Linked DNA regions of Homo sapiens: region 1 is linked to region 2. The links are contacts of gene promoters, found by promoter capture Hi-C in human tissues and cell types (Jung and others, 2019). All regions are on one chromosome and are shown on one strand. Each heading gives the region's core, a stretch centred on a gene start or on the middle of the fragment in contact. The rest is flanking DNA. Distances are from core to core; before and after follow the strand shown. Region 1 overlaps ZC2HC1B (zinc finger C2HC-type containing 1B). Region 2 holds the start of FUCA2 (alpha-L-fucosidase 2).

What was found. The method cuts DNA at HindIII sites, captures the fragments that hold promoters and counts their contacts. A contact is called where the count stands out against the background at its distance.
Region 1: a contact is called between a fragment that was not itself captured here and the fragment with the promoter of FUCA2 in region 2, in 1 of the 25 tissues and cell types used here (H1 embryonic stem cells).

What each region holds. Positions count from the first base shown.
Region 1 is chr6:143,924,036-143,927,934 of GRCh38, forward strand. The region is part of intron 6 of ZC2HC1B (zinc finger C2HC-type containing 1B); the gene reads left to right. Among named protein-coding and RNA genes, the nearest start is that of ZC2HC1B, 62 kb to the left of the region's middle. The HindIII fragment of the contact is 7,370 bases long and covers 1-3,899 here.
Region 2 is chr6:143,509,609-143,513,251 of GRCh38, forward strand. FUCA2 (alpha-L-fucosidase 2) reads right to left here and starts at 2,112. Exons shown (of 7, transcript NM_032020.5): 1 at 1,803-2,112. The coding sequence starts at 2,026. LOC105378035 (a long non-coding RNA gene) reads left to right here and starts at 2,177. Exons shown (of 4, transcript XR_007059796.1): 1 at 2,177-3,168; 2 at 3,386-3,643. RefSeq lists a silencer at 1,345-1,548 and enhancers at 1,749-2,411, 1,971-2,100, 2,211-2,390, 2,412-3,072. The HindIII fragment of the contact is 5,068 bases long and covers 1-3,380 here.

The DNA of each region.
Region 1 (3,899 bases), core at 150-2,649, 410 kb after region 2:
TAGTATGGTCATTTTAACAATAGTAATTCTTCTGAGTCATGAGCATGGGATATCTTTCCATTTGTTTGTGTCCTCTTAACATTCTTTCATCAGTGTTTTGAAGTTTTCCTCGTAAGCGTCTTTCACTTTCTTGGTTTAATTTATTCCTAAGTATTTTATTTTTTGTAGCTATTGTAAATGAGATTGTTTTCTTTTTTAGCCAGTTTATTATTGGCACATAGAAATGCTGCTGATTTTTATATGTTGATTTTGTATCCTGCAATTTTACTAAATTCATTTATTCTAGGAGTGTTTTTGGTGGAGTCTTTAGGTTTTATATATATATATATGTATTACATATATATATCCATGTATATATAATACACACACACACATATATCCATGTTATCTACAAAGAGGGACAGTTTGACTTCCTCTATTCCAATTTAGATGACATTTATTTATTTCTCTTGCCTGATTGCTCTGGCAAGGACTTCCAGTACTATGTTGAATAAAAGTGATGACCCTATCTCTAAATAAATAATAAAAATGAAGTGGTGGAACTGGGTATCCAATGTCTTGTTACAGGTCTTTCAGCTTCTCCCCACTCAGTATTATGTTAGCTATGCATTTGTCAGATATGACCTTTACTATGCTGAGGCATGTTTCTTCTATGCCTAATTTGTTAAGAGTTTTAATCATGAAAAGAAGTTGAATTTTATAAAATTCCTTTTCTCTGTCTCTTGAAATGATCATATTGTTTTTGTCTTTCATTCTGTTGTTGTGAGGTATCACATTTATTGACTTGCATGGGTGGAACCATCCTTTCATCTGATGTATTATCCTTTTATGGTGCTGTTGGATTCACTTTGCTAGTATTTTGTTGAAGCTTTTTTGTGTCTGTGTTCATCAGGGGTATTGGCCTGTAGTTTTCTATTTCCATTATGTCCTTGTCTGGTTTTGGTATCAGGGTAATACTGGCCTCACAGAATGAGTAAGGAAGAATTTCCTCCTTTGAATTTTCTGAAATAGTTTGAGAAGAATATGTGTTAGTTTTTCTTTACAAGTTTGATAGCATTTGGAAGTAAAGACATCCGGTGCTGAGCTTTTCTTTGTTGGGAGACTTTTTATTACTGATTCAATCTCATTCCTTTTTTTTTTTTTTTTTTTTTTTTTTTTGAGACAGAGTCTCACTCTGTCGCCCAGGCTGGAGTGCAGTGGTGCGATCTCCCCTCACTGCAAGCTCCGCCTCCCGGGTTCACGCCATTCTCCTGCGTCAGCCTCCCGAGCAGCTGGGAGTATAGGCACCCGCCACCATGCCTGGCTAATTTTTTGTATTTTTAGTAGAGACGGGGTTTCACTTTGTTAGCCAGGATGGTCTCGATCTCCTGACTTCGTGATCCGCCTGCCTACGGCCTCCCAAAGTGCTGAGATTACAGGTGTGAGCCACTGCTCCCAGCCCATTACTTGTTATTGGTCTATTCAGGTTTTCTCTTTCTTCCTTATTCATTCTTTTCTTTTCTTTTTTTTTTTTTTTTTGAGACGGAGTTTCGCTCTTGTTGCCCAGGCTGAAGTGTAGTGGCGCGATCTCGTCTCGCCGCAACCTCCGCCTCCCGTGCTCAAGCAATTCTCCTGCCTCAGTCTCCCGAGTAGCTGGGATTATAGGCATGCGCCATCACACCAGGCTAATTTTTTTGTATTTTTAGTAGAGATGGGGTTTCTCCATGTTGGTCAGGCTGGTCTCGAACTCCTGACCTCAGGAAGCCCACCTTGGCCTCCCAAAGTGCTGGGATTACAGGCATGAGCCACGGTGCCCAGCCCTGATTTATTCTTAGTAGATTGTATGTGTCCAGGAATTTATCCATTTCCTCTAGCTTTTCTAATTTGTTAGCATATAGTTCTTTATAAGTCTCTGATGATTTCTTGTATTTCTGTGGTATCAGTTGTAATGTCTCCCTTTTTGTTTGTGATTTTGCTAATTCACATCCTCTCTCTTATTTTCTTGGTTAGTCTAGCTAGTGATTTATCAATTTTGTTTATCTTTTCAAAAAACTAACTTTTCATTCCATTGACCTTTGTATTTTTTTTTAAAGTCTCTATTACATTTAGTTCTGCTCTGATCTTTATTGTTTCTTTCCTTCCGCTAATTTTGGATTTGGTCTGCTCTTGCTTTTCTAGTTATTGAGGGGGCATCCTTAGCTTGATTATTTGAAATGTTTCTACTTCTTGATATACGCATTTATTGCTATGAAATTCCCTCTTAGCACTTCTTTTGCTACATCCCATGGGTTTTGATATGTTGTGTTTCCATTCTCATTTGTCTCAAGACGTTTATTTCCTTCTGTCTTCTTCATTGACCCAATGGCTGTTAAGCATGTTATTTAATTTCCATGTATTTGTATAGTTTCCAAAGTTCCTGTTGTTATTGATTTCTAGTTTTATCCTATTGTGATCTGAAAGGTATTTGATATGATTTTGATTTTTTTTTTAAATTTAGACTTGCTTCGTGGCCTAGCATATGGTCTATACTAGAGAATGTTCCATGTGTTGATGAGAAGAATGTATATTCTGTTGCTATTGGATAAAATATTCCATGCATGTCTTTTAGGTACGTTGATCTGAAGTGCAATTTAAATCTAATGTTCCTTTGATGATTTTCTGTCTTGACGATCTGTCTAATATAGAGAGTAGGGTGTTGAAGTCTTCAACTATTATTGTATTGGAGTCTATCTCTCCCTTCAGATCTAATAATATTTGCTATATATAACTGGATGTTCTGGTGTTAAGTTCATATATATTTAGAATTGTATCTTCTTTTTTTTTTTTTTTTTTTTTTTTTTGAGACGGAGTCTCGCTCTGTCGCCCAGGCCGCTGCAAGCTCCGCTTCCCGGGTTCACGCCATTCTCCTGCCTCAGCCTCCCGAGTAGCTGGGACTACAGGCGCCCGGCTAATTTTTTGTATTTTTAGTAGAGACGGGGTTTCACCTTGTTAGCCAGGATGGTCTCGATCTCCTGACCTCATGATCCACCCGCCTCGGCCTCCCAAAGTGCTGGGATTACAGGCGTGAGCCACCGCGCCCGGCCCGAATTGTATCTTCTTACCGAACGAATCCCTTTATCATTATATGGTGACCTTGTTTATTTATTTATAATAGATTTAGGGGGTACAAATACAGCTTTGTTACATGGGTATATTGCGTAGTGTTGAGGTCTGGGCTTTTAGTGTAACCATCACCTGAATAGTGTTTATTGTACCCATTAGGTAATTTTTCATCCCTTACCCGCCTCCCACCTTCCCACCTTTCCAAGTCTCTAATACCTGTTATTCCAATCTGTATGTCCATGTGTGCATACTATTTATCTTTCATTTAGAAGTGAGAACATGCAGTATTTTGCTTTCTGTTTTTGTTATTTTACTTGAGATAATGGCCTCCAAATCCATACATGTAGCTGCAAAAGACATTATATTATTTTTTTCATGGATACATAGTATTCCATATATATATTTACCACATTTTCTTTATCCAATCATCCATTGATGGTTATTTAGGTTGATTCGGTATCTGTCATGACTAGTGCTGTGATAAACATGAGTGCATGTATCTTTTTGATAAAATGATTCTTTTCCTTTGAGTATATGCCCAGTAGTTGGATTGCTGGATCAAAGGGTAGTTCTATTTTTAATTCTTTGAGAAATCTCTATACTGTTTTCCATAGAAGTTGTCTAATTTACATTTCTACCAACATTTATAAGTGTTCCCTTTTCTCTGCATCTTTGCCAACATCTGTTATTTTTTGACTTTTTAACAGTAGCCATTCTGACTGGTATAAGATGGCACCTCATGGTTTAAATTTGCATTTCTCTGATGATTAGTGATGTTGAATATTTTTTCATATGCTTTTTGGGCATTTTTATGTTTA
Region 2 (3,643 bases), core at 862-3,361:
GGGGAAGAAAGTTGTTAATTATGTACCACACTAATCTAAAATATTTCCAAAACAAGCTCAAGATTCCTTACAGCCCAAAACATGCAAATAAAGATTTGTAACATCTTTTTGAAGTAGCTATGTTTTGGCATAAGAATAAAGAGTCTCTGTTTTAGAAGGTGAATTATTTAAAATATGAATAATTCTCCATAGCTTATCCAGTTTTATTTTTTACATCAATTGACCTACCAATAAGAAAGGTTACTGGTTGCAGGTAGTCAATTTCTTTGTCATGAAAGGGTTAAAATATGCTATTTTGGCACATTTTTAAAGGTAAAGAAACTCGAAAAATAGCAGGTGCATGAAGAGCACTTTGCCCTTTGTGCTGTTTCTTAGGAGAGAAGATGAAATTCCAGTATGAAAGGCACTCTGTACTAGAAGGAAAGGCAACATCCTAAGCTTCAAAGACAAGAAGTAGAATACTGTACAGAACTTGCTAAAATTTATTATTTAAGTCTCCCCACATAATTTAGTCACACAATGTCAATTTAATTCTTGGACCCAGCAGAGACCCTAACAGAATGGAGGTGTAATTTTTCTACCCCTAGAGTAGAGCATGGTACCATGTATACTATGTAATGTTAATATAATATATAGTTCATACTCTGTATTGTGTCTACTAAATATAGTATGTTAATTTGGATGTATACTATTTATGTAGTATATAGTTGATTCAAATAAATACTGTTTAATGATTCCGTTCTTTTACTTAAGAATATATTATGTGTCCCAAAGTCCTGGAATTACAGGTATGAGCCACCGCGGATCACCTGAGGTCAGGAGTTCAAGACCAGCCTGGCTAACATGGCAAAACCCCGTTTCTACTAAAAAATACAAAAAAATTGGCCAGGCATGGTGGCGTGCGCCTGTAGTCCCAGCTACTCAGGAGGCTAAGGCGCGAGAATCGTTTGAACCCGGGCGGCGAAGGTTGCAGTGAGCCGAGATGGTGCCACTGCACTCCAGCCTGGGTGACAGAATGAGACTATGTCTCAAAAAAAAAAAAAAAAGAATATATTATGTGTATGTTTCTATATATGCACACAAAATATTTCTGTTTTGAAGGACTTAATACTTGTAGCATTTAGTCAGAAAAGACATGTGCAACAGTTTAAGAAATTACATGCACATTTTCACATAGATCTCAAGGTAAAATCTAACGCACAGATTTTTGTGTAGCACCTTTCATACGGCAGTATGATAACTGGGTTGTGTTAAGAGTACCATTCTAGAACCTCTTTAAAAAGTTCCTAGAGCCACACATGGGTAACATGTTAACATTAAGTAGCCAATGGTGTTCAATGAACAGTCGTTTCACATACTCATGACTATGTTTTAACCATAACTTCATGGCAGAACGACTGTAAATTGGCAGGTAGCAGCAGAGCAACCATAGGCCATTGTGCCTGAGTCACCGCTCGTGTGATGCCCCTGCACAAACTGATGAATGTCTGTAGTAGCTCGATGTTGTAGTGTCATAACTACAGCTTAATATGCGCAACTATGAAGAAGCTGAGGAGTCAGGAGTATCTGAAAACTCTTACAGTCACACGGAAGAAAAATTCCCTGTTCATCCAGCAGAAGCACTTAGGCAGGAAACCACATATTCGACACCCGGAAGTGCGAAACGCGGGTAACGCAGTGGGAGGTGAAACCGACGAGGGTGCAGGCAGCACCAGGCGGCGAACCAGGCCCGCTGGGTGGTGGCTGGAGGCTGCGGGTGGGGACAAAAGCGCGGCAGACGAGACAAAAGGGAGCGCACTCACCAGAACCACTCGCTACCGAAGCTGGGCACGGAAAACACTCCCCAGTGGATGAAGATGCCGAACTTGGCCTGGTCAAACCACGCGGGCAGCTGGCGGGCGTCCAGGGACTCCCAGGTGGGGTCGAAGCGCGTGGCGCTGTGGGCAGGGCACGGCGGCGGCGGCAGCAGCAGCAACAGCAACAGCAGCAACGGGAACGCGAGCCTGGGGAGCTCCTGGGGCCGCATGTCCCGGCGCAGGCCGGCTGTCCTCTCTGCAGGCTCCCGCGGCCTCGGGAGCGCTGTTCTTCCGTCTCTGCCGCTGAGTATGCCGCGCCGCGGTCACCTGACCAAGTCGGACTTGGAAACCGGCCACCCTTCCCCCTCTGGGGCGGGAGTGGCCACTCTCCCGGGCGTTCCGAATGACCTCAGGAGGGCTGCATCGCTCAGCATAACTAAGGCCAGCATTACCCCAAAGCCAGCTGGGACGGCTTTGCTAAGGCTCTGTCCTCTTGAGGGGAAAATATGAGTCTGAGTCAGGGCCTTGTGGCCAGCGCCTCTGCCCTCAAGCAGACACGACCCTGACCAAGAAACTGCCCAAGAAGACAATGCCCCCAGCCCACCCTGGTGGCTGCTCCACACGTCCGAAGCGTGCACGAGAAGGTCAAGGCAGGAACTTCAGCCGGGTCTCGCCATGATGGAACATGGAAAGCAACCTAGATCCTTCTCGGCCTCTGTATCAGCTCCCAAGATCCTGCATGTTAGAACCGTGGTTGTCAACCTTGAATTTGTATCAGATGAAATTCCAAGAGCTTCAGATTCAGCAGTTAGGTTGGGGCCCAAGAATTTGCGTTTCTACCCAGTTCCTACTTCTAGGATGTTCTGATGTTGGGCCGGGCGCGGTGGCTCACTCCTGTAATCCCAACACTTTGGGAGGCCGAGGCGGGCGGATCACAAGGTCAGAAGATCGAGACCATCCTGACTAACACGGTGAAACCCCGTCCCTACTAAAAATACAAAAAATTAGCGGGACGTGGTGGCGGACGCCTGTAGTCCCAGTTACTCGGGAGGCTGAGGCAGGAGAATCGCTTGAACCCGGGAGGCAGTTACAGTGAGCAGAGACGGTGCCACTGCACTCCAGCCTGGGCTACAGAGTGAGACTCCATCTCAAAAAAAAAAAAAAAAAGAAAGAAAACAAAATTGTGATGTTTCTGATTGGTGGTCCAAACTTTCCTGAGAACCACTGCATTGAACAAGGAGATGATCTGAGACAGGTGAAACCAGTGGAATGAATGTTTAAGAAACCTGCAAGCTTGGGAAAAAAGGCCAGCAACTTGGAAAGATTAATCAAAAGGATATTTGGGAAGCTTATCACCTCCACCTCTTGTTTGGTTTGTTTGTTTGTTTGTTTGTTTGTTTGTTTGTTTGTTTTTGAGACAGAGTCTCGCTCTCTCGCCCAGGCTTGAGTGCAGTAACATGATCTAGGCTCACTGCAGCCTCTGCCTCCCGGGTTCAAGGATTCTCCTGCCTCAGCCTCCAGAGTAGCTGGGACTACAGGCACATGCCACTGTGCCAGACTAATTTTTGTATTTTTCTTTTCTTTTTTAGTAGAGACAGGGTTTCACCATGTTGGACAAGCTGGTCTCAAACTCTTGACCTCAGGTGATCTGCCCGCCTTGGCCTCCCAAAGTGCTAGAATTACAGGCATGAGCCACCAAGCCCAGCCTCTCCTCCACCTCGTAAGTGTTTTCAAAGTAAAGCCAGAATCCTCAACTGCTTCTGCCCCCATGAAATCATTACCCTTCAATGAGCCAATTCAAATGCTGCTTCTTTTGTGAAGCTTTCTGCCACCACCCTTCCCTCCCA